Regions from separate parts of the Homo sapiens genome. Here all the other regions are linked to region 2. Evidence: promoter capture Hi-C in 16 types of primary human blood cells and fetal thymus (Javierre and others, 2016). All regions are on one chromosome and are shown on one strand. Each heading gives the region's core, a stretch centred on a gene start or on the middle of the fragment in contact. The rest is flanking DNA. Distances are from core to core; before and after follow the strand shown. Region 1 has its middle 20 kb from the start of LINC02896. Region 2 holds the start of UACA (uveal autoantigen with coiled-coil domains and ankyrin repeats). Region 3 overlaps KIF23 (kinesin family member 23). Region 4 overlaps KIF23 (kinesin family member 23). Region 5 holds the start of LINC02896 (long intergenic non-protein coding RNA 2896). Region 6 overlaps PAQR5 (progestin and adipoQ receptor family member 5). Region 7 holds the start of GLCE (glucuronic acid epimerase).

Region 1 (2,700 bases), core at 82-2,581, 1.3 Mb after region 2:
TGAAGCCAACGTGGATGGGGACAGTTTGCAGGAATTTGCATCTTACAGGGCCTTGGGTTCCCTCAGGCATGAAATGAGGACTTCAGTCACGCCCTTTCAGATTTTCAGGGGCTGGGGCCACTGGCTGCCATCTGAGATACATGTTCACAGGGGATGGGAGCAGATGGAAAAGCTAACACGGTGCATCTTCTACTCTCAAAGAGCATCCAGTGTAGTTCAGCAGGTGAGCCAGGCTCCCAGCAAGCTTAGGAGAGTAGAAAGGGGCACAGCGGAAGGAACAGAGAGAATGATGGAAGGAGATGGAGGGAGAGGGAGAGAAAAAAGAATGGGAAGAGGGACCAAATAACACTCTTGCTATCAGAATCAAAAGCAGATGGAGGGCGGGTAAAACAGGACACAGAGAACTTTCTGGGGAGATTGAAATCTTCTGTCTTTTGATTGTGATATATTATACCTTTCCCTTTGCACTGCGCACAGGGCAAGAGACACATTGCACGTGTTCTGGAATTTGGACTCCCACCAACTGCTAATCTGCTCCTAGTTTCATCTCCCCCAGCCACTTGTACCAATGCCCTCTTGACACCACTGCAGACCCCCTTGTCCTTCTTTCTCATCCCTGTCAGCCCCGAAGCTACCAGCTCCACGCAGCTTTGCTTGTTTTGTGAAGGTGCAAGCTGTCCCAGTCTCACCTCTGACTCCTCCCTGCCCTCTTTCATCTGCCCCAGGCTTTCCTGCCTGAGTGGCCCCGAACCCACCTGGTGCTCACCCAAATGCAATGTAGCATAAACACTTCATGGGTTACCCGGATCAAAGGGGGGATGAATAAATGGCATCCCTTCTTTCCCAGGCAGGCAGTTCTGGGACTCATTTTCAGGAGGCTTCTTATAAGGCCCCACCATATTGAGCAGAAGCAAGTCCGTCATGCCTCCTTGGACCAGTTGCCCCCTTCCCAGCTTCCTAGGAATGTACTCAAAGAACTCATCCTGCAAAAGCCTCTGATTTGGGCCCTGCTCGGGGGAAACCAGGCTAGGATACCCTCATCAAGATGTATCTGCAATGCCATCTGGGAAGAAGCACCTTGGGACTGTGGGGTTGGCTTTCTTGGAAGCCAGGAGTGCCCTGAACTCCCCATCCCAGCAGCAGATGCGCAGGCTTTGCAGACCATTGGGCCCCACCTCCCAGCCTCTCTGCTTGGCTCCCACATCCTGACTTGACTGTGTTGAAAGGCCCAGTCTGGTCCCTAGACTGAGTTCTATAAATAGCCAGTAGGTGTGTTTACCAAGAGTCACTAACCTTCCACTAGCAGGGACAACACGATACATTAGTTACTTGATGTTTGGAGGTTGCTTTGCTTAAGGCAAAGTGACTGATCCACCAGACCTGTCTGGTGGCCTGTATTCCAATTTGCCAGCCTGAGATCCTGGCGTAAAGCCCAGAGCTGCCGTCCATCTGGATGCTAGGTGCCTGGGTTCCCAGCTCAGTTCTACCATGGGCACTGTATGACCCTGGAGAAATCTCCAGGCCTCTTTGCCCTTTCCCTGTGAACTGAAAAAGAATGAGACATTCTCCAAAGTCCTTCAAGCTGCAACAGGACTAGAAAATCATACTACCTCCTGTGCTCGGAGAAACAAAGCTCAGGTCTACCCTCAGAACTCCACCCCAGGTAACATTCTCCCTGCACAACCACTCCTTAACAGAACATATGTATCTTCACTCCAGGGCTTGTTGGCCGGTATTTACATGGGGAAAAATGTGTGTATATGTCTCCAAAATTCAATATAACTTTTTTTAAAGGAATAATGTACAGGAAGAGAATTAAGGTGCATTCTAAATACAATTAGTAGACTGTCTGAAAGAAGTTATGTTTTGAAAAACATGAAAGTGGTGGCTAGGCGTGGTGGCTTGTGCTTGTAATTCTAGCACTTTGGGAGGTCAAGGTGGGCAGATCACTTTGGGCCAGGAGTTTGGGACCAGCCTGGCCAAAATGGCAAAATTCTGTCTCTACTAAAAATACAAAAATAAGCTGGGCATGGTGACACACACCTGTGATCCCAGCTACTCAGGAGGCTAAGGCATGAGAATCACTTGAACCCAGGAGGCAGAGGTTGCAGTGAGCTGAGACTGAGCCACTGCACTCCAGCCTGGGTGACAGAGCAAGACTCCATCTCAAAAAAAAAAAAAAAAAAAAAAAAAAGGAAAGAAAGAAAGAGAGAGAAAGAAAGAAAGAAAGGAAAGAAAGAAAGAAAGAAAGAAAAGGAAAGAAAGAAAGAAAGAAGGAAAGAAAAACATGACGGTGACAATGAAGTGGGTGGTGCCGCTTGGCTGTTGCTGGTACTAAGAGAGGCCAGGTTCCTGTTTACAGAGCAACTGCTTGTTAATGTCTATATTAATTATGTGGTGACCAAGAAGCAAAGCTTTAAGCATCTTACAACCTAGTATGACTGTTGGTTACAAATATAAGCATTTTACTGTATTTTAGTTAGAATTTAGGAAATTGGTTAAGGGGCTGGGTTAACCAGTAACAATATAACTTTTTTCCCTTTAAGAATAATGGAAAGACTATAAACAAAAAGAGATGAAAGGAAAGGAAATATGTTCCCAGAAGCATTTTCACACAGAACATCTCATTGTGGGGGATAGATTACTGACATTAAACAGGAGATGTCATGCAGTCTTCCCAACTGACAGGGCAGCTATATT
Region 2 (2,700 bases), core at 86-2,585:
AATTTTGGCTCTGCAGTGGCAGTGAGAACAGAGTAACTGACCATACACAGACACTTTAAAGAGCCAACAAGAACTAAATGACTGGAGATCTAGAGGAAGGGGGAGGAATCAAAGAAAATTTTCTTCCAAAGATCTAATCAAGATGAAATTTAATAATATTTTTGGGTAGTTAGTTGTTATTTACTTGTTGTATAGGGTTAACACAGTCTTTGAATGCTGCCTCTCCAAGAAATTCTGAAAACTTTCTTACAGTATTTGAAGAAAACCTTGCGTTACTATAAAGAAACTCTAAAGAGAGCAACTGACCTTTCAGACAAAAAAGAGTCCTTTGTTAGTCAGAAAATGTGGACCGTTTGTCTTTTCAAATGGATGCATGCTACGATAAACGTTTTGCTGGGGGGAAAAATGACTCCAAAGAAGACTTTTGAAGATGTCACCCGAACAGCAAATTATTGGGTGCTGAGCACCTTCCTGTTTCTTCATCCTCTTAAATAATTTTTACTAACCCAGATTTCTAGGTAAGATGATTTAACTTCATCGTATACGTTTACATGTAATGTGTTTCTACAGAAAACAAAAAACCTTTTTGAAGAAAAAAGGGCGTAACTTTTTTTGACAACTTAAATCACTGGCTGTGGGAGTCATTTTTAATTGATGGCACCTCTTCTCCTCCCTCCCCGCCCCCATTCCGTCCCTTTGCTTCCAATACGGCGGATTCTTCACTCAACAAATAAACGAGCACGTAACTTGTACTGTAACTTACTATAACGTCTTTCAAGGTCTTTCTTAACTGTACGTTTTTCTGCACAATCAGCACCTTATTTCTTAGAGACTGTTTATTTCTGGAATTTTTGATGCGTGTGGTGGTTTCCAGGCACCAGGATTTGGTAGTAAAACAGGAGACTGAAAAGAAGTTGCTCCTGAAAGCTGTTCTGTGTGCAGGTAACCAAGAGTCATTTCTAAGACCAGACGGAAGGGAAGGAACTTTACTTGGTAAAGAGCGCGTGGGTGGAAAGAGGAGGGGAGTCCGGGAAGATGAGAGGTGGCAAAGGCGGGACCCCGTGCTCTCTCTAGATCTTAAGCTCCGGGTGGGCGGGCGCCGGTGGCCTGGAGCCCGGCCTGCGCGCATCTCCACGCCTCTGGCCGCCCACCTCCTCCGCCCCTTCCCGGGCTAAAGTTCCCAAACTTTTCCTCCAGCTGGGAGAGGAAGGGTGTTACTCAGTTTAAAAGGGAAGTCCCGCCCCATTCCCGCATTCCGATTGGTCGCGGTTTGCCACGCCCCCGCCAGGGCAGCGGGTCAATTGGCTACGGGAGGGGAGCCCCGCCTCAGGCCTGTCGACGTCTGCTGCCCGGGGCCCGCAGGTGGCAGGCAGGTGGGGCTGGTACAGCCCGCGCCGCCTCTGCTGCAGCCGCTGCCGTCTACTCCTTGCGCGCTGGCACTCCGCAGCCTTTAAGGTTCGCGCGGGGGCCAGGCAAGAGTTAGCCATGAAGAGCCTCAAGTCCCGCCTGAGGAGGCAGGACGTGCCCGGCCCCGCGTCGTCTGGCGCCGCCGCCGCCAGCGCGGTGAGTCCCGCGGTCCGGGCTGCGAGGCGCTCCGCTCCGGGAGCAGCGCAGCCCTCCTTTGCTGGCGAGTTCGCGCGCCGCCTTCCTCTGCTTTTCCTCTGCCAGTTCGGCTTCGGCGGCCCTGGCGACTCCTCCCTGAGGCCGGAGACTCCGTCAGCCCAGAGACCCCGGGGATCCTCCCCGCCGCCGCACCCGAGCCTCTACGGGTCTCTTCCCCACCCCTTTCTCCCAAGCCTCCGAACTTCTGGAAGAAACCTCAGTGGGGCGGTTCTGGCCCCCTCCTCCTAAATCCAAAGTTCCTCGATTGGCACCCCTACTCCGCTCTTTCCGTTGACCCCCCCTCGTCGCTCTCCTCTCCCGGCGCTCGCCCTGCTGCCCACGCCCGCTCGGCCGTGTTGGCTCCCCAGTCCCCGGGGCCGGGGCTCGCACCAGGTAGGGCAGGTGGGCAGGGCTGCGCACCCCGCGCCACCGTGCCCGGACTCCGGACCTTCCCCGGGTCTGAGACAGCGTCAAGCCCTGCCGGGCTGGTGGACGTCCCGTGCTGGCCGCTGTCGTTGTCACTGGGAAGTTTGATTCCCCAGCGAGGCAGAGGGAATCGGCTTAGTCGTAAAGACAAAACCCCACAGGGTGGTGACCCTAGAGGTGGTGAAGTTGGGAGGGGTGGTGGTGATGTGGGTTGTGTAAATCGCACCTGTGGGGCGGGATCCGTGCGGGGCTCTTTCGGTGCTGACCTGCAGCGCGGCCTCAGTGTGCGCGCCAAGGAGTAGTCGGGGCCTCTTTAGTTGGCAGGAGAACAGAAATCTTGAGAAACAGCCTGACCGCAGATGTTGTGATTTAGATAATTTGTCACGTTACAAGAATGGCGATATCATCAAAATTCTATATCATTAAAATAAGTGCCACTTACAAAGTCTTGGAAGAGTCGAACGTAAAGGAGTTGTTATGCTCCAACTGCACAGTTACCTAGTTGGGGTAATTAAAATGAACCTTTACAATTCAACGCAGATTTTACCAAATGATTATATTCTTTTTATCAGAATACTAATTAATCTGCTTCTGCTTTTTTGAGTTAATTCAGTTATGCCTTTCTCTCCACCTATATCGAGGATTATTTTACTTGGACATAAAGGAAATTGT
Region 3 (2,700 bases), core at 18-2,517, 1.3 Mb after region 2:
CAAAGTGAGACTCTGTCTCAAAAAAAAAAAAAAGTAACTGATCCCAAGGGGAAACTAACAGATAAAATAAATATCTGCAATTACAAGCAGAAATGCACAAAGCAGCTTTATTCATACTCATGGTTTGCCAACAGTATTCCCACGTCCTCCCGAACACACAACAATGGCTTTTATACCCTCTCCCCATCCAGAGTGGCACCCTCTTAAAACAGTGATTGAAACAAAATGTGCTCAAAGCCAAAGAGAAAACATCTGAGCAAAGAACTTAAGAACATTCCTTAACTTTAATCTCACAAAAGTCAACTTCTCTATTTAATGTTCACCATTCCTCATGTCTGGGCAAACCACAGGAAAGAATCCTGTGCCCCTAGGCCAGTGCTGCAGACAAATATAATTACTTACTTGCTAGAAGAAGTCTTTGGATTGGGCATAGCTTCTCTTTTCTGACGTTCTAATAAGGCATCAACCTCACACTGTATATCCATACTATTCCTATCATTAGATTTGAAAACCTGAAGTGGGGGCAAAAAAAAAAAAATCACACCACGTTTTTTAGAATTTAACTTAAATAGTAAGAAATATGTTTAAAAACTAAGGAACAGTTAAGGTTTCAAAATGAATCCAGTGCTTTGGTTCTTCTTTACTACTACTGTATCCATAGGTGTCTTAGTCCAGTAAGATAGTCACAACACAAAAGAATCATACTTACATATCGTTTAGCTTGAAATGACCCTATACTGTTAAAGATCATGTCCAAACAACGAGGAAGCAGCCCTCCTTCCCCTGGAGAACCAGTCATTGTGTGAGTTTTTCCACTTCCCGTCACACCATATGTAAAAAGAAGACCTACAGTGTAGCAAGTCACAATGAGTTATATCTTAGAAGTTCTCCACTTAGAGTATTTCTTCACTGCATTAGAAAACACTAACAATTAGCCAGCTCAAAAAAGGCAAGTTTAGCACCACCCTAACAAATTAAATATGGATTCAACACCAAACATAAATCAAATATATAAATATCAAAAAAGTTTTATCAGAAGAGGAGAAAAAGGAAAATCTAACAAAACTCCAAGAGTCATATCATACCATTTTTGCCATGAATGAGGTCATTGACCAAGGGATTAGCCACAACATCAAAGAGTTCCTTCTGGGTGGTGTGAGTGCCAAATACTTGTTTAAATGAATACTGAGTCTGTGGAGAGAGAAAAAAATGCACTAAATAGAATTCCACTATTATCTAGGCTAAAAATACATCTCCTTAAACTTAAGGTGTTTATGACATTTAAGATCTAAGCATGCAAAGAAAAAATATAAATGGTCTTTTTACAGTTGGAACCCTTAGTTATTTAGTTACTAAAAAGTCATGACATACCTATATCATACCAATTATAAACTGGTAAACGTTTTCAGTCACAACTACTAAAGAAAATGTAGAAAACTCTTTTTTTTTGAGACAGAGTTTTGCTCTTGTTGCCCAGGCTGGAGTGCAATGACACAATCTCGGCTCACTGCAACCTCTGCCTCCTGGGTTCAAGCGATTCCCCTGCCTCAGCCTCCCAAGTAGCTGGAATTACAGGCACGTGCCACCACACCTGGCTAATTTTTATATTTTTAGTAGAGACGGGTTTCACCATGTTAGGCTGGTGTCAAACTCCTGATCTTAGGTGATCCACCCACCTCAGCCTTCCAAAGTGCTGGGATTACAGGCGTGAGCCACCACACCTGGCCAAAAATGTAGAAAAGTCTTAAGTCTACTAATGCTTCTAATCTAAGGCTGATTTTGTTTTAATTAAGTGACAGAGATCAAAAGGTATTGTAACGATTCATAGTCACAGATTTGTGGAAATCTACAAGCATTATGTCATACACAACTTTACTGTTTCCTAGTTTTTCTTTATAAAGGTGTCATTTAAAATAGCAAAGCATGGGCATAGTGGCTCACACTTATAATCCCACTTTGGAAGGCTGAGGCAGGAGGATCACTTGAGGCCATGAGTTAAGAGACCAGCCTGGGCAAGCTCATCTAATAAAAAATTTTAAAAGTAAAAACAACAAAAAAACCTCACCAAAAAACAGTGAGCTGTGGTCACACCATTGCACACCAGCCTGGGCAACAAGTGAGACCCTGTCTCAAAAAAGAAAAAGAAAAAAGACATATAAAATAAAATGGCATAGCAGCATAATACCACGTTTTGATGTACTATAGTTTAAAACCAGAAGTAAACTGTAAATATTATCTCATCTCTGAGTTCTTACATGAAATACATTTTAAATAAATTGTGACCTTTAAGAAAGCAAGAATACTTCAATTATCAAGGCTCTCTAAATACAATTAATAAAATATCCTGTAAAAATCAGCTTTAGAGTTCAAAAAGAACAAAGAATCTTGGAACTGAAAGGATACACATAGGCTAATACTGAGAAGATAGATGACCTCACAGTCCTCATGAATGACTCCCTCCTTTCAAGGTAAAGAAAACTGAGGCCCGAAGGTGAAACTTCTCTGAGCCCATGGAGTTAATTAGTATCAAAGCCATCATCAGTGCAATGTTTTTGTTTTCTTCTTTTTTTTTTTGAAACAGAGTCTCACTCTGTCACCCAGGCTGGAGTGCAGTGGTAGGATCTCGGCTCACTGCAACCTCTGCCTCCTGGGTTCAAGCAATACTCCTGCCTCAGCCTCCCGAGTAGCTGTGATTACAGG
Region 4 (2,700 bases), core at 65-2,564, 1.3 Mb after region 2:
AACCCAGAATTAATTTAAGGGTATTATTAGAAGTGCAGCAGGTTTGGCTACATTAGTTGATGACAGTATCATAGCAAACCTTTCCAAAGCTAAATATTTTATTCAAGTAATTTAAACATGATCTTTGCATTTAAACACAAAACCAACAAACATCTTTAACACCAACTTGTATGTTACACATTCTATCTGGGAGTTTCCCTTTCAATAAAGGATAAAAGAAAAAATTCTGGTAATGCTGCAAGTCTTTCCTGCTTGGGGGTGGTTCAGGACAAACAACTCATTTCATATTCTTGATCAAAAACCAATATTTATCCCTGCTATTGAGAGGTAATCTATTATGTCCACAACTCTGTTAAAATCTTCAATAAGATCAATGAAAGCCCTACACATTTTCTAGGCTTCTAAACAAAACAGAAAACAATCCTAAGAACATAGGTATAATAAGAACCATATGAATAAAATGATTAAAGAAATGTGAAATACTTCTGAGTGCTTTCAGTTAAGATTTTAAAATCTCATAATAGAACTTCATGAAAAGTTCAAATACAGTAATGGCTACAATATACCAACTAATTTTTCCCCCAAACATTTCATACAGGTTCCAAGAAACAAATAAATAATACAGTGTCAAATCAGTCTCTATCACACAATAAAAGACTAGTTGCTAGGCCAGGCATGGTGGTACATGCCTGTAATCAGCACTTTGGAAGGCCGAGGTGGAGGAATCACTTGAACTCAGAAGTTCAAGTTCAGCCTAGGCAACATGGTGAAACCCAGACTCAACAAAAACAAAACAAAACAAAACAAACAAAAATATATATATATATATTAGCTGGGCTTGGTGACACGTGCCTGTAGTCCCAGCTACTCAGGAGGTTGAGGTGGGAGGATTGCTTGAGCCCAGGAGGTGGAAATTGCAGTGAGCCAAGATCGCACCACTGCACTCCAGCCTGGGCAATAGAATGAGACCCTGCCTCAAAAACAAACAAGTTGCTTCCAGTCAAATGTCATGTAAACCTGGGAATGCTAAATTAAGCACATTCAGCCTAAGAAAATAATATGTCACATATATGCCATAGTTATAGTTTGAAGCAATGAATTATCTTTAGAATTTTATGAACATCTCCTGTTTGTAAAACTGAAAGCAGGGCTGGGTGCAGTGGCTCATACCTGTTATCCCAACATTTGTGAGGCTGAGGTGGGAGAAGGATCACCCGAGACCAGCTTAGGCAATGTAAGAAGACCCCATCTTTACAAAAAATTTAAAAATTAGCCAGGTGCGATAGCACATGCCTGTGGTCCCAGCTACTCAGGAGGCTGAGGTAGAACGATCACTTGAGCCTGGAAGGTCAAGGCTGCAGTGAGCCTAGATGACACCACTGCACTCCAGCCTGGGCAACAGATCAAGACCTCATCTCAAAAAAAAAAAAAAAAAAAAAAAAAAAAAACCCAAAAAACAAAACTGAAAGCAAATGGAAAAAGTCTATCACAGGCCAAATCTGTCAAAGCTAGTCAAGTATGAAGACCTCAATTTCAAAATGCACATCTGAGGAACTGAATCATTTTCGCTATATAGTTAACAAGAAACAAATGCAGCACTAGTGACAGCTCTAAGACATGGGCAATACAGTTTGCCACTAAAGATGCTGAGCCTCAAGACAAACAGGAACTTTCCATTCCTACAATGATTTATTTAATGTTGAACACGAAAGAAAGTCTGGTCCTTATCATCTACCATTTAGCAAAAACAAAGGTTTTCTTCAAACATTTAACAATAAGCATATGATGAAACACACTTCAGAAAGATGATAATCCATACAATCTACTAGCATTTATGAAACAAATATTTAAATTTTTTCCTCACTGAAGTATAAATTCAGTCCACCTGACATAATTTTTGACCAACAAACTTAGATGCACAGATACTAACCTTACAGTAACTTTTCTGCTGCACTTCTAAAGAGATTTTGATTTCACGTAAGAATCTCTAGTAAATTCCCTTAAATATCTCATAGCCAAATTAGATATCTCATTACGGTTTGCAAGGCATACGCAAGCCTTGAATAGTTTTCAGCCTATAAACTTTCATAAAATGACTGACTAGAGTTGGTCAGAATGACCATTTACCTAATTTGCTGTCTAAAAATGTTTAAGGAAAAATCTGCAAAGTAAAGAACTTAAGAGACTTTAGAATCATCTGTTTCCCTGGTAAATAACTTGGGATTCATCACCATCCCTTAATAATCAGGAATTCAGGCCACATAAATGAACATTCATCTATACCCTGACTTATATAAGAAAATCTAAAGTAAATGTTTACTGTAAGATTTAGAAGAAATATTCTAAGAGAGCTTTGTGAAGATTTTACTAAATATAAAATTCGCAAACATTAACTTGGTCCATTTATTCAGATTCAAAAGAAACTTTACCTTAATCTTTAAGAAGAAAAATATGAAAGTGAATTTATTTAAATACCCTTGAATGAGGCAAATGTAAATTGAGATAAATGCCTCAAGATTAAAAGCAATTTATTGGGCATGGAAATCAGTAATTTTAAAATAACTGGCCTAAACTCTTCAATGAAAATAGTCAATGTCATAAAAATAAAAAAAGTAGGGGGACAGGGTGAGACTATTTTATATTAAAAGAGATGAAAGACATAATCATGATATGCAATGCATACACTTTCATAGTATCATG
Region 5 (2,700 bases), core at 54-2,553, 1.3 Mb after region 2:
TCATGGTCTTTAAAAATTCAAGCAATATAAAAAGGATAAACTGGAAAGTAAAAATATTTCTTCCACCCCATCCAATCCCTGTCCTCAGAAGTAACCACTATAATTACTCTTGAATCCTCCCAGAAGTTTTTTAATACTATAAAACATATGCACATTTTTTTTATTTTTTTACTCAAATAGGGTCATGTTATGCATACTGGTGGCAACTTACCTTTTTTCACTTAACAAGGTGTCCTGGATGTCTTTCCATAGCGGCATTCCTATACATAGCTACATGAAAACATTAACATTTATTCAACCTGCCTATCATCCATACTTTTTTTCTAATACAAGCAATACTTCAGTGAAATTGTACATAGCATAGGTTCCTACAAATGAAATTCCTGGATAGAGGGTAAGCGCACTTTTGAGAGAGAGGACCAAATGACCCTAAAAAAATTGTAGTAGTTCTGGCCGGGCTCGGTGGCTCACGCCTATAATCCCAGCACTTTGAGAAGCCGAGGCGGGCAGATCACGAGGTCAGGAGATCAAGACCATCCTGGCTAACATGGTGAAACCCTGTTTCTCCTAAAAATACAAAAAATTAGCAGGGCGTGGTGGCGGGCGCCTGTAGTCCCAGCTACTCGGGAGGCTGAGGCAGGAGAATGGCGTGAACCCGGGAGGCGGAGCTTGCAGTGAGTTGAGATCGCACCGCTCCACTCCAGCCTAGGCGACAGAGCAAGACTCCATCTCAAAAAAAAAAAAAAAAAAAAAAAAAAACAAAACAAAACTGTAGTAGTTCAAACTCAAACAGGCTGAAGAAAACATTTAAAAATTAAAAAAAAAAATTGGAACTTGTAGTGATGGCACAGTGGCTCACCACCTGTAATCCAGCTACTTGGAGACTGGGGCAGGAAGGTTGCTTGAGCCCCAAGGAGGTCGAGGCTGCAGTGAGCCTTGATCACACCACTGCACTCCAGCCTGGGTGACAAAGCAAGACCCTGTCTCAAAAAAAAAGTAAATTTAAAAAATTCAAAATCCCCACATTATTAACTGTGGTTTTCAGTCTTTAATAAAATAGTAGAATGAAACATTAAGGGGCTGGGTGTGGAGGCTCTCGCCTGTAATCCCAGCACTTTGGGAGGCCAAGGATGGAGGATCACTTGAGCCTAGGAGTTCAAGACCACCCTGGGCAACATGGTGAAACCCTATCTCTAGAAAAGACCAAAAAAAAAAAAAAAAAAAGTAGCCTGGCGTGGTGACATGTGCCTGTAATCCCGGCTACTCGGGAGGATCGCTTGAGCCCCAGAGTTCAAGGTTGCAGTGAGCAGAGATCATGCCACTGCACTCCATCCTGGGCGACAGTGAGATCCTGTCTCAAAAAAAAAGAAGAGAAGAAGAAAGAGAAAGAGGAGGAGGAGGGGAAAGGAGGGGTAGGGGAGGAGGAGGGAGAGGAGGAGTAAAGAAGAAAAGAAAGAAGAAAAACGTTATAGGAATTTACACCCAAATCAACCAACAGCCCATTTTCCCAGGTTTGTCAATATGGCTTTTTATCAAACTGTTAACTTTTCCTTCCACGTTTGAAGACAGCTCTTCATTCATATATTCATTTACACATTATTTCAAACCATATTGACTACGCGTCTTCTCCTCAGGTGCTGAGGAGCTGGGTTTGCTCTGATCCGGGAGTTTCCAGCCCTGACTGACTTATCCTCCCGCTCATCAGAAGAGCTTATGAAAATTCCCGGTGGCTGCCTCGAGGGGCTGGTTCGGTGGGCCTTGGAGGGGCCCGGCAAGCTGTTTAGTTGTTTGTTTCATTCATTTTTGTTTTTGTTTACCAGCTTCCCACGTGATTTAGCTATTTGATAAGAAGCCAAAGGTAGAGCAAATCTTCCCTCTCCTTTCTCTGGGTAAAATCGCCTTCTGGAAATGAAGGCGCTGGGAACGGCTAGAACCCACTACTGGGAAGTGAAGGAAGAGGGATCTGGTGCTCGAGACCTCTCCTGGTAACGCCGAAATCCACTGCTGCTCCCGAGTCCTCCAAGCAACAGCCCGGGCTCAGGATTCCCAACTACAAACGCGCCCCAGCCCATTCCTGCTGGCTAATGAAAGCGTTGGCCTCTCCGGACACACAGGATTCGAAACAGATCAGCTGCCTTCAACCACTAATCAGCTCCTGACTTAAGACATTCCTCCGGGGGACGGAGGGTCAAGAGCATGCGCAGAAGCCAGCTGTCCCGAAGGCGCCCCCAGCGGTTAACAGGCCTCAGCGAAACTGGAAAGTTCGGCTTCCCTCGGCCACACTCGGCCTCCAGCCCCGCCTCTCGGCCCGCCTTTTCCTCCCGGCCCTGCGTTGGTGGGCGCGCCGCGGGCTCTAAAAGCTCGACTGTCGGCCGGGCGCTGTGGCGCACGCCTGTAATCCCAGCACTTTGGGAGGGCAAGGTGGGTGGATCAAAGTTCGCGACCAGCCTGACCAACATGGTGAAACTACGTCTCTACTAAATTAGCCAGGCGTAGTGGCTCATGCCTATAATCCGAGCTACTTGGGAGGCTGAGACAGGAGACTCGCTTGTACCCGGCAGGCGGAGGTTGCAGTGAGCCAAGATTGCGCCATTGCACTCCAGCCTCGGCAACAAGAGCGAAACTCCGTCTCAAAAAAAAAAAAAGCTCAACTGTGGGCCTGCGACCTTCACGCGCCAGCGCTGGAGAGGTGCCAGGCTC
Region 6 (2,700 bases), core at 63-2,562, 1.4 Mb after region 2:
GGTTTCCTGTGTGTGGTCTGCGCCCTTGAGGAAGGAGTGAGGGGAACGGGCTGCAGCCCCATCTTTGGCGCTCTCCCAGACCCACAGAGGCAGAGCACAGAGAACGTGCTCAATGCCCCAGCTGCTGGGTGGAGCTCAGCCCCTCCCCTTGTCCCTCAGCCCTGCCATCTGGGCTTTATTCTTCAAGCCCACAGGACGCTGCCTCTAGGAGGGAGCTTCACTCACCGGGTACTGGACAGGCACCGCAGAGCCTATCAGATCCATTGTTTTCCCCTACAAAGGAGGCCTAGTACCCTTATGTACAGATGAGGAAACTAATCTGAGGCTTAGAGAGTTGTGTGTCCTGCCTGAGGTCACATAGCCAGTGAGCAGTGGGGCCAGAATTTGAACTCAAGCCCGTATGGTTTGAAAGTGCGTGGACTTTCCCCTTCTAGTCCTACTTGTTGTCCCTCCTACACTCTCTTCCTTTATGCTCTCCATCTCTTTCCCATCGCTCCTTTAAGACCCTCATTCATGCCTTTTCCTTCAATACTAACAGTATACTACTTGATGATGGAACAATGCATTCCCGAACTCTTGCTACCAGTCAGCACTTGACATGTTCCCCGTGTAATCCTCCCCACAGCCCATGAGGTGTTATCAGGCCCAGCTTACAGATGAAGGAAATCGAGGCATAGAGAACTGGCCCAGGGACTGACAGCAAGTATTGGAGACCTGCCTGCAGAGCTCGCTCTCCTGCTCACTCCACTCAGCCCCAGGCTGCCTGTTCTATGACGTTCCCGAGCCCCCAGTCATATTGTCAGTCAGGGCCTCTGTGCTTATGTCATCTCCTAACCACTCCTCAAGTGCCACCAAGGCAGCACCTGGGTGTGGGGGAAAGAAAGATATATCAGACTGTTACTGTGTCTATGTAGAAAAAGGAAGACATAAGAAACTCCATTTTGATCTGTACTAAGAAAAATCTTCTTATTTATTTTCTCAGTCTCTCGTCCCACCTGACGAGAAATACCCACAGGTGTGGAGGGGCTGGCCCCCTTCACCTGGGTCTCGACTCCTGTTTTGTTCTGCGGTTCCCATTGCAGTGCTGTGACCCCCCAGAAGCTCAGGAAAACAACTGACTTCCTGGTGTTGCCAACAGGCAGAGAGGAGATGCAGCCAGTCCTTACCCTGTAGAAGATGGGGAGGGAGTCCCAGGTGTACGGATAAGCAAAGGCGAGGACACGAATCACCTTACAGAGTCTGGGCTTCTGGATTTCAAGAAACCTAAATCAGGGAAGGAAAGTGGGGAGGAAATGGAATGAAAAGAGTCTCAGCAAATTGCATACGCACATGCATGCACACCGAGGGCCTGGTCATCAACAGAGGACAAGCATTTTTCTACAAGCTCCTGTGGCCAGCAGCTTCTCCACCAGCCTCGTCCATTCCTCCCACCCCAATGGAAGTGACAAAACTTCAGATGCAAAAAGATCTCCAGGGACACCATCTCCTGACCATGGGAAGCAGTGGTGTCCAGACTAAGCCAGAAAGGAGGCGCTGGGCAGAAACCCTTCAAGGGCCAAGTTATGTAACTGCCAAAGAACCTTTTAAAACTCTAGTTGCTACAGGGACAGGGAACGGGTAGGGGGAATCGGGGGATCCACTGCCACAGACTCTTGGGGGGCACACTCTGCAGAGGCTGAGATGCACCCATCTAGTTGGAGCCCAGGTATTATCATGCAGGAGACCTGGGTTCAAGTAGGTGTTTGACCCTTGGAGAGCTTTCTGGAATATTTATACCACACACAGGGATACTTGGCTTGGGAAAACTAAATAAACGTGAAGTCTTTCCTTCTCTTCTTCATTGCCACCCTCACCCAACCTCCAATCCAAAGACAGCTGACAGCAACATTAAAACAAGTGATGCTGATTGTTGAGAAGAGAGGCAGGTCCCCCCAGACAGAACATGACAGGGCCTCAGCTGACTTGGGCCCAGCCTGGGGCAGCAGCTCAGGGTATGGGGAACTGGGTAGCACAGACAGCAGGCTGCACACTGGGAGGACATGGGGAGGGGCAGGGAGGGTCTCTGCACAAAATCACAGCCCTGAACTGAGGCCTGGGTAAGGAAGTGCTCATGGGCCCTGGCTGGGCCACCAAGGCCAGGTAGTAGGGACAGGTAAAGTCCCCACATCAATGCTGAGGTGTACTGTGGAGGGCTGTGTCCTCCCTTGGGGCCCACAGGGCTGCAGGGTAAGGAACCCAGCACAGTGGATGCACAGCCACACGCTGAGGCTCTTGGGATGGCTGTTCTGATGCAGTCTGTAAAGGCAATGCATGCATCTGGGCCCTTTCAGCCTTTGCTGACAGTTCTGCCCCCTATCACACTGGAGGGATGGGGTCTGTGTCCTGCTGTGGCTCCTATCTCTGCTCCCAAGAACCTCGGTCCCAGTCCACAAGCCTGTTCCTTCTCCTTCAAATGCCATCTGCTGTTTCCTCTGAGCCCAGACCGATTTCACCTGGCCAGGCTGTTCATATCTCGTATGAGCCAGTAAAGCCACCTGACCATAAACCCAGCTGCTGCCTGTATCTCTCAGCATGGAGTATGCAGGGACTTCCACATTGGGCAGTTAGGGAACCCTCCTCAGGCAGGTGCCAGATCTGGTCAGGCCTGGATCCTGGGGACCCAGCACAGAAGCAGGTCTGAGGATGCGGACATTCTCCAGG
Region 7 (2,700 bases), core at 13-2,512, 1.6 Mb after region 2:
ACAGATTCCAGTTGCTCAGGAGCTGTATCCACGCTCAACCTGCGGACACCGGCCTCCTAAAGAACCTGCAGACCAAACGCCCACCTAAGGTGCTGCCACTCTAGCTCCCGGAGCTCCAGCGAGACCAGCGCGCCCCCACAGGGATCCCGGGGCAGAGAAAAGAAAACTGCAGAACAAACGCACTGCTTCTTCAACTAGGCAACAACACCGATCAATCCTCCAACTAAGCATTGAGTAAATCTCATCCAGAGAGAAGGAGACCTGAACAAAAACGTTTCAGGATGCTGCCCAGCCTGCGCGGTAGCACCAAAGCCCTCTCCCGCCCTCAGCGGACCCAGCGCCTGCGGAGCCGCGCCCACCCCGAGAGACTGCCCGGGGGCCAGCTAACTCGCCCCGTCGCCCCCAAAAGACTGGAGACCATGCCAAGTTACCGCCCCGCTCCGGGCAAAGCAGAAACCCCGGCCAGACGCTGGTCGCCGCTACACACCCTCAGCCCCCAACAACCCCCCAAGGCGGCCCCGGCCCCAGCGGAACGGATACATCGCTCTCTCACCCGGAGACACCGATGAACAGACCCCTCTCCCCAGAACCCGGACACACTGCTTCTTCATCCCAGCAATGCGAAACGGACGCCCACGCCCGCTCAAAGAACCCCCAAGACCCCGATGATCTGCCTCCAGAGACAAGGTTTACACCGGTGTAAACCTTGCTAAACTGCATTCTCTGCCCCAAAGAGCTCGGGACCCGGGTAAAAAGACCCCTTGTCCCGGAACCCCGCTACACCACCTCCAAGAAGCTCAAGACCCTGATAAATCTCCCTCGACGTCAAAGACCTAGGACCCCGTGTGCCGCCACCCACCCCTACCCCAAGCCGGAAGAGCCCCCAGGATCCCTAATACATTGCCCCCTCACCTCGGGAGCTCCGGCACCCGCTACACCGCCCTTGGGCGCCCGCGCCCGGATCCCACTGCACCGCCTCCTCGCCCCCCGGACTCCCAAACCCCGCCAAGCCTCGCGCCCACCAGGCAGCGCCGCGCAGCCCCCAGAGCCGCCCCCGTCAGGAGCCCGCCTGCTCCGGCTGCTCCGTGTCCCCGCTCCCCGACCGCTCCTCAGCGGAGACGCGCTCCGGGCTTTCTAACCTGAGCAGCGTCGGAGGGCGAGCAGACACGGGAGCCCTGAGGAAGAGAAGGAGACAGCAGAGAAGGGGTGGCTCAGGCCTGCGGTGCCGCAGCTCCAGCCTCTCGGCAAGGAAGCGCTTGTGTGAGGAGAGCCCTCCCGCTCCGCGCGCAGCCGGGAGACCGAGCCACCGCCGTGCCCGCAGCTCTTCCCGCGAGATCCCAGCCACGGCAAGGGGCGGGGCCACGGCGGGGGGCGGTAGCGGCAGCTCCTCGAGTGACAGTCCTGGCAGCCTGTCGGCTGCAGGACGGGCGGCAGGACTCGGAGTCTACTACGACCAATTGTAAAAAAGGAAAGGTGATTCTCCCCGCCCCTTCTCCGCCCCTCTTCTTCTCCGCTCCTCCTTAATAAACTGTGAGCAAAGGTAGTAGTGACCAGAAGTAGTAGGAGGCAGTGGACTTTCGCGGTAAGGTAGCTCGAATGACGTGACGTGCTTGGCTTGTGTGTGGTCCTGCTAGGCCGCCGTAGATACACCTGGTTTGGGGAAGAGGCTGGTCTTCACACCGGTGTAAACCGAGGTGCGGTTACCCTTGGTTACAGCGCTGCCCGAAGTGCGCTGGGGATTCCCATCTTCCAGGTTGAAGGCCCACCCACTCCGGTTACCCGCGTCTAAACCTCCATTTAATTCCTTTCCCCGATTTGGGCCTCTCCTCCCTCTCCACCTCAAACAGGGCACCATTGTTAAGATGCCCATGTTTTCCAAACCCCAACCCAGGACATCTGGTCTGACAAAGAACTCGTCTGATGACTGTATTTATTTCTACATACAGCCTTCCAGAAGAATGAAAAGCAAATCTCGAGTTACCAACATAACAAATTCCAAAATTAATGAAAAGTCGTACCTTTATAGACCCCAGTGCCCAGTAGTATTTGGCACACCCAGGGCACTGAATAATGTGAAAGGAATGAATTAAGACTGTTAAATATATGCAAATCTCGAGTTACCAACATAACAAATTCCAACATTACATGAAAAGTCGTACCTTTGTAGACCCCAGTGCCCAGTAGTATTTGGCACACCCAGGGCACTGAATAAGGTGAAAGGAATGAATTAAGACTGTTATACTTAAATATATTAAATCTGGACCTGGCCCCAGAAAATTCGGCTTTCCTAGCCTTTCCTCTATAATGTGAGCCAGTGGCTTCACCCTTAAATCCAGGCTCTTCATTATTATGCCTATCCTGTACCTTCATTCATCTTACCCTCTTCACTCCCTCACCCACAGCAAGAAGTGCCCTTTCTCCTCAAGGTTAAATCTTGCACCTGTGCCCTGGATCCCAGCCATTCCCAGATTTTATTCAGCTATTCTTTCTTTCCCCATTATTAATTTCTTCCTCTAACCTAAATCTTTCTCCCACAAACATAGTCTCGCCCATCCTTTGAACAGAACAAAGCCACCCAATCTCTTCCACCCAAACTACCTTCTCCTTTCTCCTAGGAATCACACTTCTTGGGAAACATTATATTTGCTGCTGAGCACTGTGGCTCATGCCTGTAATCCCAGCACCTTGGGATGCCAAGGT

What was found. Contacts are between HindIII fragments. The CHiCAGO score rates a contact against its expected background, and 5 or more counts as called.
Region 1: a contact is called between a fragment that was not itself captured here and the fragment with the promoter of UACA in region 2, in 5 of 17 cell types (total B cells, naive B cells, fetal thymus and 2 more). The highest score is 7.6, in total B cells.
Region 3: a fragment that was not itself captured here is called in contact with the fragment with the promoter of UACA in region 2 in 2 of 17 cell types (total B cells and naive B cells); the score reaches 8.3 in total B cells.
Region 4: a contact is called between a fragment that was not itself captured here and the fragment with the promoter of UACA in region 2, in 1 of 17 cell types (total B cells). The highest score is 5.1, in total B cells.
Region 5: a fragment that was not itself captured here is called in contact with the fragment with the promoter of UACA in region 2 in 4 of 17 cell types (total B cells, naive B cells, monocytes and 1 more); the score reaches 11.4 in total B cells.
Region 6: a contact is called between a fragment that was not itself captured here and the fragment with the promoter of UACA in region 2, in 1 of 17 cell types (total B cells). The highest score is 5.2, in total B cells.
Region 7: the fragment with the promoter of GLCE here is called in contact with the fragment with the promoter of UACA in region 2 in 1 of 17 cell types (monocytes); the score reaches 6.2 in monocytes.

What each region holds. Positions count from the first base shown.
Region 1 is chr15:69,481,572-69,484,271 of GRCh38, reverse strand. No RefSeq gene overlaps it. Among named protein-coding and RNA genes, the nearest start is that of LINC02896, 20 kb to the right of the region's middle. The HindIII fragment of the contact is 2,170 bases long and covers 247-2,416 here.
Region 2 is chr15:70,762,193-70,764,892 of GRCh38, reverse strand. UACA (uveal autoantigen with coiled-coil domains and ankyrin repeats) reads left to right here and starts at 1,335. Exons shown (of 19, transcript NM_018003.4): 1 at 1,335-1,563. The coding sequence starts at 1,486. RefSeq lists a silencer at 1,161-1,570. The HindIII fragment of the contact is 4,014 bases long and covers 1-2,700 here.
Region 3 is chr15:69,420,138-69,422,837 of GRCh38, reverse strand. It overlaps KIF23 (kinesin family member 23), which reads right to left. Exons shown (of 24, transcript NM_001367805.3): 4 at 1,086-1,191; 5 at 710-846; 6 at 403-512. Among named protein-coding and RNA genes, the nearest start is that of KIF23-AS1, 6.5 kb to the right of the region's middle. The HindIII fragment of the contact is 8,506 bases long and covers 1-2,700 here.
Region 4 is chr15:69,442,075-69,444,774 of GRCh38, reverse strand. All of the region lies in intron 19 of KIF23 (kinesin family member 23), which reads right to left. Among named protein-coding and RNA genes, the nearest start is that of RPLP1, 9.4 kb to the left of the region's middle. The HindIII fragment of the contact is 4,204 bases long and covers 1-2,700 here.
Region 5 is chr15:69,462,403-69,465,102 of GRCh38, reverse strand. LINC02896 (long intergenic non-protein coding RNA 2896) reads left to right here and starts at 2,327. Exons shown (of 3, transcript XR_932420.2): 1 at 2,327-2,421. RefSeq lists enhancers at 1,801-2,308, 2,079-2,373, 2,309-2,700. The HindIII fragment of the contact is 2,925 bases long and covers 1-2,700 here.
Region 6 is chr15:69,396,031-69,398,730 of GRCh38, reverse strand. PAQR5 (progestin and adipoQ receptor family member 5) reads right to left here. Exons shown (of 9, transcript NM_017705.4): 7 at 1,167-1,263. It overlaps KIF23-AS1 (KIF23 and PAQR5 antisense RNA 1), which reads left to right. Exons shown (of 2, transcript NR_132971.1): 2 at 983-1,827. Among named protein-coding and RNA genes, the nearest start is that of KIF23, 17 kb to the left of the region's middle. The HindIII fragment of the contact is 7,709 bases long and covers 1-2,700 here.
Region 7 is chr15:69,159,197-69,161,896 of GRCh38, reverse strand. It overlaps GLCE (glucuronic acid epimerase), which reads right to left and starts at 1,262. Exons shown (of 5, transcript NM_015554.3): 1 at 1,140-1,262. It also overlaps the pseudogene LOC100421574. RefSeq lists silencers at 883-992, 1,193-1,402 and an enhancer at 1,100-1,600. The HindIII fragment of the contact is 10,275 bases long and covers 1-2,700 here.